3 separate regions of the Homo sapiens genome follow, and all the other regions are linked to region 1. Evidence: promoter capture Hi-C in 16 types of primary human blood cells and fetal thymus (Javierre and others, 2016). All regions are on one chromosome and are shown on one strand. The core of a region is centred on a gene start or on the middle of the fragment in contact, and the rest is flanking DNA. Distances in the headings are between cores, read along the strand shown.

What was found. The method cuts DNA at HindIII sites, captures the fragments that hold promoters and counts their contacts. A CHiCAGO score of 5 or more calls a contact.
Region 2: a fragment that was not itself captured here is called in contact with the fragment with the promoter of PSMD2 in region 1 in 1 of 17 cell types (total B cells); the score reaches 6.0 in total B cells.
Region 3: the fragment with the promoter of HTR3E here is called in contact with the fragment with the promoter of PSMD2 in region 1 in 4 of 17 cell types (M0 macrophages, endothelial precursors, M1 macrophages and 1 more); the score reaches 8.3 in M0 macrophages.

The regions. Positions count from the first base shown.
Region 1 is chr3:184,296,758-184,300,490 of GRCh38, reverse strand. It overlaps PSMD2 (proteasome 26S subunit ubiquitin receptor, non-ATPase 2), which reads right to left and starts at 1,250. Exons shown (of 21, transcript NM_002808.5): 1 at 1,090-1,250; 2 at 584-640; 3 at 47-211. The coding sequence starts at 1,224. RefSeq lists a silencer at 1,243-1,582. The HindIII fragment of the contact is 6,965 bases long and covers 1-3,733 here.
Region 2 is chr3:184,523,334-184,527,066 of GRCh38, reverse strand. The region is part of intron 6 of LINC01839 (long intergenic non-protein coding RNA 1839); the gene reads right to left. Among named protein-coding and RNA genes, the nearest start is that of LINC01840, 32 kb to the left of the region's middle. RefSeq lists enhancers at 464-1,266, 1,267-2,071. The HindIII fragment of the contact is 249 bases long and covers 1,807-2,055 here.
Region 3 is chr3:184,095,019-184,098,751 of GRCh38, reverse strand. HTR3E (5-hydroxytryptamine receptor 3E) reads right to left here and starts at 1,688. Exons shown (of 9, transcript NM_001256613.2): 1 at 1,156-1,688. The coding sequence starts at 1,222. It overlaps HTR3E-AS1 (HTR3E antisense RNA 1), which reads left to right. Exons shown (of 3, transcript NR_133658.1): 3 at 3,402-3,634. The HindIII fragment of the contact is 4,461 bases long and covers 1-1,961 here.

The DNA.
Region 1 (3,733 bases), core at 1-2,500:
AAGGAATTCCTAAACTAGGCCTCCACCAGGTTTGAAACAGTTTTACCTTATTCTCCCCAGGGGCCATGTTCTCATAGATTTCCTTCAGTTTGCCATAGTGTGGACGCAGAAATTTGAGAGGCTTGGGCACTGAAGTCATGGAAGTTGTAGAAGAACGAATCTGCCTTCGCAATTCCTCCAGCGCTGGTCGATACAGGGATGTATCCTTCTCCTGATCAAGAGACGACAGGGCTCAGACAAAAAGGAGTCACACCCCTTCAAGTCATAATACAGAGATATTTAACTTAACAACTCCTCCAAGGAAATGCTGTGTCTTATTCATTCATCTGTGATTCCTCAACTCCCTGCACCCTGCCTGGCACAAAAACAAATGACCCAAGTTAAGAGGTAAGAACTCTGCTTCTCCCACAAGAGAAAGCTGCAAAACTGTACAAATACCCTTTGTAACTCTCCTGCCTCCCAACATCATCATAACACTGACCCTAAAATACAGTCCACCGTACATAGCAGTTGCCTCAAAAAAGAATAAAACAAGTGGGAAAGATCCAAACATGCACCGAATCATGTTAACATCGTGACTCACCCCTAGTCGTTCCACGAGCATCTCCAGTTCATCTTGAAGCTGTTTATCCTCTTCAGACTGGAGGGTTGGGAGAAGCAGCTCATGAAGAGAAGGAATCCCAAAGACGTCCTCCTCCCACTTACCCGGGGCAGGTGAAGAATAAGCCTGCCTCCTTAGGAGGGGCCAGGTGGACAAGGAAACCGAGTGGGAATGGGAAGCCCTGGTGAGAAATCAGCCTGGGTTCTGAATCAGGCTCTACTTGAATGCCACTCTAGGAAACGGAGGTGACAATGACCTGCCCGAGTCCACTTCACGCGGCGGTGGTGAGGGTTGGTGGGGACGGCGGAGGTGACAGCGCGGAACGGAGAATGAGGAGCAGAGAGGCAAGGTGCCGGGAGTCCCGAGGGTCGCCCCAACCGCCCTCTCCCTGGCGCGGTGGGGTAGTTGGGTGTCGGGCCTGAGGCCTGCGGAGCCGCCGTGACTCAGCCCCGCAGCCTCCTTCGCCGACTCTCGGGGTCGCGCCTCACCAGCTCCTGTTCTTTGTCCTTGTCCCCGGCATCCCGCCGCTCCTTGCCGCTCGGCTTCTCGTCCGTGCCGCCGGGGGCCGCCGCTGGAGACTGCTGGGGCTGCACCGGCGCCTTGTCCCGGCCTCCCTCCTCCATCTCCGCCGCCACTGCCGGCCCGCTGCGCGCGCACCCGCTCGCACCGCCCTTTTTCCCAGACCAACTCGCGCGCGTCGGTCGCGGCGCCCCTCCTCCTCCAGAGCCCGCCTGCGACCGGAAACGCCGGGGCGAGCCGGGGCGCTCGGCGACCCACCCACCCCCTCGGCCTGAGAGCCCCGCCCTCGGACCCCGCCCTCGGAGGCAGGTGGAGACTACAATTCCCAGCCTCCCCCGCGCCATAGTCGCCCCTGGCCCCCGACCTCTTCGGAGTTTCCTGAAACCCGCGGGACTTGGCCGTGTGGGGTTTGGGTTCGCTCACTGCTGTAGATGGGCGGTCTGCGAGCGGAGTTACCGAGTTTTACTCCGCCACAGGTTTTTCTCATAACGGTGTAAATAGAACCCACAGTGACACTCCAGTTGACTGCGTGGCGCGACAGACAAACTAGATTTCTTGACGTCCAGGACGCTTGATTGCCGCCTGTATAAAGTCTGTGTAACTGTGTCTAGCCCCACACCACTGTGGAATATTAACCTCATTTGGTTTTGTTGTTGTTGTTGCTTTTGAGAAGGAGGCTCGCTCTCTCGCCCAGGCTGGAGTGCAGTGGCGCGATCTCGGCTCACTGCAAACTCCGCCTACCAGGTTCAAGTGATTCTCGTGCCTCAACCTCCCGAGTAGCTGGGATTACAGGCGCCCGCCACCACGCCCAGCTAATTTTTGTATTTTTTAGTAGAGACGGGGGTTTCACTATGTTGGCCAGGCTGGTCTCGAACTCCTGACCTCAAGTGATCTGCCCGCCTCAGCCTCCCAAAGAGCTGTAATTACAGGTGTGAACCACCGCGCCCGGCCTATTAACCTCATTTGATATTCCTCCCCAGTTGAAAGAGAGTACTCTGCTATTCCCGTGGCTACCATTTTAAATACTTTGGGGAGCCAGGTGGAGTTGACATCGATCAATAAAGCCCTGTGCTCCCCGCCAAGTTCTGGAGCTAAAAGCAGAACAAGACAAGGTCTTCGTCCTCTATCTTCTCGTCTTTCCCTGTGAAGCCTTAGAGGCGTGTGACTGACGCGCTTATGTCAGGACTGCTTTCGAGTGATTCCATGCACTTCTTACAATCTTTTGAGATTGGTAGGGTTAGGTCCATTTTACAGAGAAGATCATATCAAGTAGTAAAATGAGGATTTATTTTTTATTTTATTTATTTGTTTTGAGATAGTGTTTCTCTCCTGTTGCCCAGGCTGGAGTGCAATGGCGCAATCTCGGCTCACCACAACCTTCGCCTCCCGGGTGCAAGTGATTCTCCTGCCTCAGCCTCCCGAGTAGCTGGATAAAGAGGAGTTTTAGAAAAAAATCCCTCTACAGATGACTGAAGAAAGCATGAAAATGTATGGACACCGTGAAGCCAGAGATAGAATAGGCAGAACAGTTATGGACTGTTGAATTTTTGTGCCACCACGCCCGGCTAATTTTTGTATTTTTAGTAGAGACGGGGTTTCTCCATGTTGGTCAGGCTGGTCTCCAACTCCCGACCTCAGGTGATCCGCCCGCCTCGGCCTCCCAAAGTTCTGGGATTACAAGCGTGAGCCACCGCGCCCGGCGGAATCAAAATTTAAAGCTCAGTCTTTCAGTCTTCAAAGCCCTTGACTGTTTTAGGCAAACCCCAGAGTTTCTTCTTCAGCTGTGTGTGTGTGTGTGTGCGTGTAAGGTGAGAAAAAAGGAAGTATCTCTTCTCCCTTTCACCTAGTGGGAACACTCAGGAGTCTTCTAGCAATCTTATTTTATGGGTTCTGACACATTGAAGAAAAAGACACCTAGTACAACATATCACAGAGTGAATGTTGGGTAAATGTTTGTGTAGATACGGAAGTAAAGGTCTGAATCCATTTTAAATACCTGTTGCTCTTTTCCACTCAGTGCTTGGATTCTAGGCATGACCTTCCATTGCCATTGCCAATGACTCCCCCAGCGCTGGTCTGCAGACAAAAATTCAACAGTCCATAACTGTTCTGCCTATTCTATCTCTGGCTTCACGGTGTCCATACATTTTCATGCTTTCTTCAGTCATCTGTAGAGGGATTTTTTTCTAAAACTCCTCTTTATCCATGACTTCCTTCTTCTTTTTTTTTTTTTTTTCCAGACGGAGTCTCGCTCTGTCGTCCAGGCTGGAGTGCAGTGGCATGATCTCAGCTTGCTGCAACCTCTGCCTCCCGGGTTCAGGTGATTTTCCTGCTTCAGCCTCCCAAGTAACTGGGACTACAGGCATGCACCACCACACCCCGCTAATGTTTGTATTTTTAGTCGAGACGGGGATTCACCATGTTGGCCAGGCTGGTCTTGAACTCCTGACCTCAAGTTATCTGCCTGCCTTGGCCTCCCAAAGTGCTGGAATTACAGGCATGAGCCACTGCGCCCGGCCTGGAACTGTGTCTTATTCATCTTTATGCTCCTAGCCTCCAGCCTAGCGCCTGGCTTGTAGTGAGCCTTGATAAATATTTGCAGAATGCATGCAT
Region 2 (3,733 bases), core at 682-3,181, 230 kb before region 1:
AACCCCGTCTCTACTAAAAAATACAGAAATAAATTAGCTGGGCGTGGTGGCGCGCACCTGTAGTCCCAGCTACTAAGGAGGCTGAGGCAGGAGAATCGCTTGAACCTGGGAGGCAGAGGTTGCAGTGCGCCGAGATCGCACCACTGCACTCCAGCCTGGCGACAGAGAGACTCCGTCTCAAAAACAAAAACAAAAAACAGCTTCTCTTGTATCTTTGGGTTGTCATTCTAAAGGCTCCCATGTCACATAAACTGTGATCAAATAAATTTGTATGCATTTTTTCCCGTTAATCTGCCTTTTGTCAGTGATTTTTAGTAAACCTTCAAAGGAGGCTTTCCCTTGACTCCTACACTCTCCTTGAAATAAGTAACTTCTACGGTTTTGCGAGAATCTTTTTTCTTACAATAGGAATGTATGTTTACTGAAGAAAATTCAGGAAATAGAGATAAGCAAAAAGTAGAAAATTTAGATCGACTAGAATCCCATCTCTTAGGGAAAAACATAGTTGGTGTTTTCTTGTTTTTTGCATCTTATTTCCTGCATATGTATATGTGTTTGTGTGTTTGTGTAAGAAACACATTTTTCAAAGAACCAAAATGGGCTCATCCCACACCTACTGGTTTTCCCTTTACCGTACAATCTAAAGCTAGCTCTACATCAATAGCAGGAGCCAGGGGGCTTGTGAGAAGAGCAGAATGTCAGGCCCGAACCGGAATCTGCATTTTCGTAAGCCCCCTAGAGGATTCCTGTGCCCCACACACTCTGGGGAGCATCGCCATTTTTAATGGCCACAGAGTCTCCCAAACAGGGCTAGACCGTGATTCACTCATTGCATCTCTCGGTGGTGAGGATTTTCCCTGTAACAAGAAGCTGGTCCCTCTGGGATCTCTGGGCTCTTCAGACCCTCCCCCTCAGTCCGTGCCCAGGAGACTCCAACAGCTGGGCAGGCGGCGTCCTTGCCCGTCCTCCACGGGCGAGATGCGCTGTCCACCTCCGCCCTCCTCTTGCTCCACCTGGCCAGAGGCCTGGGCTGCGCGCTCCCCGCGCTCCTGCGCAGGCTCTACTGGGAGCCCCTCCAGGGCGCAGTCCGGACCTGACGGGCAAGCCCTGACCTGCCTTTCATCCCGCTGATGCTCGCGCCCAGCTCCCTGTGAATACCCACTGATTGCCCCCGGAGTCTCCCCGTTAGGCCCTCCCGCACCTCTTACCCCTTCCTCCCCTTCCTGGCCTCCCCAGCTCCCTCACCCGCCTTCTAGAAGCATCCTCCCCCTTCTCACCCACCTCTCTACTCCTCCCTTCCCGACTTCCTCAATTCCCACCTCCCCCCCAAATTCCAGTCCTCTCCCTGGGAAAGAGAAAGCGGCCGGGGTCCCACCCTGGCTGTGTGTGGCCCGCGGTGGGGTGGGGCAGCCTGCCAGCCGCCAGGTAGCGCGAATGGAGCGCGGGGCGCCGCGCGCTGCGGGCGGGTGAAGCCGGAATCGGGGCGGCGGCTCGGCCCCCGGCCCCCGGCCCCGGGGAGCCCAGAGCGACTAGTCGGGCAGGAAAAGAATGACGGTGACGTGACCACTCTGACCCCGAGGACTCTCTGGGCTCTGGCGGGCGCTGGGCTCGGCGGATCTGAGTGCGTAGGAAGGGCGATGGGCGCTCAGTCCCCGAGGATCACCTGCGGGACCCTTTGGGGGCACCTGCCGGAGCAGCTGGCCCTGCGACGGGTCCCACCGCGCCCTCAGCAGCAAGGCGGTTCTCCCTTTATAGAGGTTTTACGTGCGTTTGTGGGGGGTGTTCTCAAAACAATACAAATAAGCTTCCATTGTCACCGATCAAAATAGTAAGGGCTTTTTAAAAGGAAACTGTTTAGGGCTGACAGAGCTACAGAGGAAGTGGAGTGATCCGGGCACAGTCAGGGACGGGGGAGGGGGGCGGAACTGGTCTAGCTGTTTTGGCAAAATGTAATAATACAGAGTTAGAGTCTTTGAATGCTCACACTGTTTGATATTGTGGTTCTAGTAGTGGTCATGCATCAGAAGAAATAATCCCAAATATTCCCCCAAAGCTTTTATGGACACAGACATTCTTTGCACTGAAAAATGAGAAAAAAAATTATCTAAAATTGGAATCAACTAGTTGGGCACTGATAAATACATTATGGTGTATCCACAGTTGTGATATCATTCTGTCATTGATAACATTTCTGAAAAGTTTTCGATAGTATAAGGAAATTTTCTCATTCTGTAAAAGGCACAAGGTGAGTTTGTATACACAAGATAATCACAAGTATATAAACTAAGCATAGTGGAAAGACTGGAAGAAATACATTTTAAATAGGAATGGGTGCTTTTTTTTTCTTTTGAAAAAACTTTTTTATGAACTATTTCAGATACATATCAAGGTATAGAGAAGAACTTACCCATCAATAATCATGGGGAATGGAGCAACCTCACTGCTGAAGCCCCTTAGGGACCCTCTTCACCACCTTCCTCACCCTCATCCCTGAGGTGACTTCTCACTATCTTTATTACATATGAGTGGATTCCTAAACATTATATAAGTATTTCAAACTTGACATATATGACAAAGTATTATGCACACTCCTTTGACTTGCTTTTTTAAGTCAACTTGGTGCTCTGGGGATTCATCCATGTCGACTCATGTTGATGAATCTGGCTCTGGTTCATTCAGTAAATATGACTTAATATTTCTCAAAAACGTAGAGCAGAGCCTGGCACATGGCACTACATATGTTTGTTGTTTTTTAAGAAATAAAAAATCATTTTCACTGCAGTATAGTAGACTTGTTAATATCATACTAAATGTATTGATCCATTCTCCTGCTGTGAAAATTTAGAATGTTTCCATTTTGTTCTTATTACAAACAGTGCCGCGATGAACATTCTGGTCTGTGTCTTCTTGTGCACATGTGAGTTTCTATGGAGTGCACCTAGCATTGGCCACAGACATTGCAAGGGATGCCTAACTTCAGTGCTACAAATTACTGCCCAGTCGTTCTCCAAAGCGATCTTGCCAGCAGCAGATGAGTCATTGTAGTAACACTCCCAGCCCTCAACACTGCCTCTCATCACGTCAGTTCTTTTCCAGTGTAATGGGTGTGGTTACTTCTCATGGTTTAAATTTGCATTTCCCTAATTACCATGGGGTTAGAGGTCAGGCATTTGTTCCTATGTTTATTGGTATTTTTTATACTGTAAAGTCTTGATCATAACTTTTTCCTATTTTTCTATTGGTTGTTGACATTTTCTTGTTGGTTTTTAAGAATTCTTTATAAATTTTGTATCTTAATCTTTCATCAGATGGATGAGTTGCAAATATTGTCATTCACTCCATGGCTTATCTTATAACTATTTGTGATGTCTTTCAAGACACAGAAAATTTACATCTGCACATATTCTAATTTACCTCTTTCTTTAAAGTTTGTACTTTGGTTGACATGGTTAAAGTACCTTTTCCTCTTCCAAGATATAAGTTTCCCTACACTTTCTTCTAAAAGTTTTTAAATTTTGTCGTTTTATATTTGGTCTTACATCTATCTGGATTTGATTCTTTGTAAAGGTGTGGTGGAGAGATCATCTTTCTCCTTGGATAATAATTGTCAAAGCATTTATTGGACAGCTCATCCTTTTCCAGTCATCTGCAATGCTGGCTTTGCCATAAATCAAATTTCCCAGTAAGTGGTGGTCTGTTTCTGGGTTCTCTATTTTGTTACATTGTTCTGTCC
Region 3 (3,733 bases), core at 439-2,938, 200 kb after region 1:
CTTCTAACTAATAAATTTTTAAATTTTCTAGTCATGAAAATGTGTTGGAGGAGCAACAACTTGGACTGAGAGAGATGGTTGATAACCTCTGTGCCAAGGACATTGAGCCTTATCCATTCCCAACGTCACAGTGCTTTCCAGCAAATTCTTAAACCACTCTAAGAACAGTGAATATTCATTTGTCAACCCCTGTGTGCAAGTGCCCAGAGGAGCTTTCATAACCATTTACACTGCCTAGACCAGGTGTACAATTTGTGTCTCTTCCCTGTGCTGGCCTTTAAAGTCACCTCTGGTTCAGTCCTCTCCTGTGCCTCCTTATCCAAAGTCATGGAATAATCTAACGAGGAGAGATGACAGTTATTGGCACTTTTACCAAGTGCCAGACACTGTGCTTCCCTCCTTCTCTTACTGAATCCTCACAACCCTGCAAGGTAGGTTCTGTTTTACAGATGAGGAAACCAGAGCTCAGATAAGTTAAGCAGTGCATCCAAGTTTATAAAACTAGCAACGTGAGACACCAAGATTCAAACCCAGGTCCACCTGTCTCCAAATCCCATGTTCTTGTCTCTCTACCATGCTGACCCCCTGGAAGAGAAGCACATTCTACTTTCACCCTTGACCTGCTGCCTTCTGGCACCTTACCTAACCTAGAGCCCTTGGATCCAGCAGATGGACAGGGAAATTATGGCTAAAGGAGGTGGGCACTTTGCTACAATGGTTTGGGTTTCATACCTGTAGAGAGAAAGAATTACACCTGTGGATAGAAAGATGGATGGATATAGAAGCTAAATACAAGAGAAGACGATCGTGGATGGTTGTCTTCCATGTAGGGTACCAATGGAGAAAAGACAGACTTTTCAAGTAGTATTGGGAAAACTGGATATCCATATGTGAAAGGATAAAGTTTGCTGGTGTTGAACTCTATTTTTCGAGAAGGAAAATGAAAGTGCTCTTGTTTGGCATGTAACTGGAAGGGGATTTTCCGTCTTTCAGAAAAGGAAAGTCTATGTGGGCATCTTAGTAATGTAGCTATGAAAGAACTCTATCCATCTTAGACAATCTCTAGGAGTTGGAAATTTGAAAAAAGTTCCTAGATGTTCTACTAGAGAGAGGTCCTCCTTCTTCCGCCTTCCCCCATCATTGCTCCTTTCTTACCTTGAAGCAGAAAACCGAGAAGGAGGTAGAAGGAAAATCTTTTCCTGTGGAACCAGCTTCCTTCCATCTTCTTTGTCTAAGTTCTTCTCTGAACATGTACTGGGACCCAGGAATGCCCAGATTAAAGCAGCACAGGCCACACCTAGAGTCTGACTTTGAATACTAATAGCATTGGTTGACCACTGACATTTGTAACCTTCCTTCAAAGAGTGTTCTGGTTGTCTTGTTCTTGCCTATGCTTAAGGTTCAGTCTGCTTTTAAGACTTTATCTTAGTCTTAGGTATTTCACTGCAACGTAAATGGTTATAGATAGTTCATACGTGATCAACTTGCAGATCTTGGTGAGATCCCTTGGTCTGAAGACTCATCTCTTCAATTTTGGAAAATTCTCAGACATTTATAAATGTTTCACTTCCTCTATTTTTCTTATTAGACATGTGTTGAATGGTTTCCTTCTATCTTACATGCCTTTTATTGCTGTTGTAACAAATCACAAACCCAGTGGCTTAAATAAACACAATTTGTTATTTTACTGTTCTGTGGGCCAGAAGTTTGAAATGGGTCTCACTGGGCTAAAATGAATGTGTCAGCAGGACCGCATTCCCTCTGGAGGCTCTAGAGGAGAATCCATTTCCTTGCCTTTTCCAGATTTTTTTTTTTTTGAGACAGGGTTTCACTCTGTTGACCAGGCTGGAGTGCAGTGGCGCAATCGCGACTCACTGCAGCCTTGACCTCCTGGGCTCAAGGGATCTTTCCGTCTCAGCCTCCCAAGTAGCTGGGACCTCACAGGTGTGAGCCACCAAGCTTGGCTATTTTTTTTTTTTTTAGTAGAAATGAGGTCTCGCTTTGTTGCCTAGGCTTGTCTCCAACTCCTGGCCTCAAGTGATCCTCCAACCTTGATCTCCCAAAGTGCTGGGATTATAGACATGAGCCATTGTACCCGGCCTTTTCCAGCTTTTAAACTGCCTGTATTTCTTGGTTCATTATTTTTACTTCTCCATCTTCAAAACCAGCAACATCAGGCCAATGTTTCTCACAAGGCATCTCATCTCTCTGGTTCTTATTTGTTTCTCTCTCCTTCTTCCACTTATAAGAGCCTTTGTGATTGCATTGTGTCCATTTGGATAATCCAGGATAGTCTCCCCATCTCAAAGTCCGATAATTAACAACCTTAATTCCATCTGCAACCTTAACTCCCCTTTTCCATATAACCTAAGGTTCCAGAGATTAGGATGTGGACAAATTCTGGGGGCCGTTATTCTGCCTAGCACACCTCTCTTTCCTATTTTCTACCTCTTTATCTCTGTCCCTAATGATTTCTTCAGATCTAGCTTCCAGGAAAAAAATTCTCTCCTCAACTGTGTTTATTTTAATTAATTAATTAATTAATTTTTGATGAAACTCAGTAATTTTTATTGCAACTGGAAGACAATACATTGCAGAAACTTTATGGTAGGTCTGGGGAAAAGTGTTATTTACAATAGATTATGACATAATTTGTCTTTGACAATATGATTACATACGAAGAATGCAAAATGCAAGTATGGATGCCTTCCATATTTTATTTTATTTTGAGATGGAGTCTCATTCTGTTGCCCAGGCTAGAGTGCAGTGGCGTGATCTTGGCTCACTACAGCCTCCACCTCCTTGATTTGAGCGATTCTCCTGTCTCAGCCTCCTGAGTAGTTGGGACTACAGGCTTGTGCCACCACACCCAGCTAATTTTTGTATTTTTATTAGAGACAGGGTTTCACCATGTTGTCCAGGCTGGTCTTGAACTCCTCACCTCAGCTGATCTGCCCACCTCGGCCTTCCAAAGTGCTGGGATTACAGGAGTGAGCCACTGTGCTTGACCCTCAACTGTGTCTAATCTGTCCATCTAATCTGCCCACTGAGTTTTGGTTTTGTTTTTTTGTTTTTTTGTTTTTTAGAGAGAGGGTTTCACTGTCTCCCACCATGCCTGGCCCTCAACTGTGAGCCACCATGCTGGGATTACAGACGTGAGCCACCGTGCCCGGCCCTCAGCTGTGTCTAATCTGTCCACTGAGTTTTGCTTTTTGTTTTGTTTTGTTTTTTTTAGAGACAGGGTCTCACTGTCTCCCAGGCTGGAGTACAGTGGTATGATCATAGCTCACTGTAGCCTTGAACTCCAGGGCTCAAGCAATCCTGCCACCTCAGCCTCCCAAGTAGCTGGGACTACAGGTGCATGCCACCATGTGTGGCTAATTTTTTTTTATTGTTTCTAGAGACAGGGCCTTGCTATGCTGCCCAGGCTGGTGTTGAACTCCTGGCCTCAAGCAATCCTCCTGCCTCAGCCTCCCAAATCACTGGAATTTACAGGTATGAACCACTATGGCTAACCTTTTACCCATTTTTAAATCAAGTTGTTTTTTGTTGTTGAGTTTCAGGAATTCTATGTATAGTTTGGATATTAATCCCTTATCAGCTATATAATTTGCAAATGTTTTCTCCCATTTTGTGGGTTGTCTTCTTTCCTCTGTTAATAGTGTCTTTTGATTCATAGATGTTTAATATTTTCATGAAGTACTATTTGTCTATTTTTTCTTTTGTTGCCTAT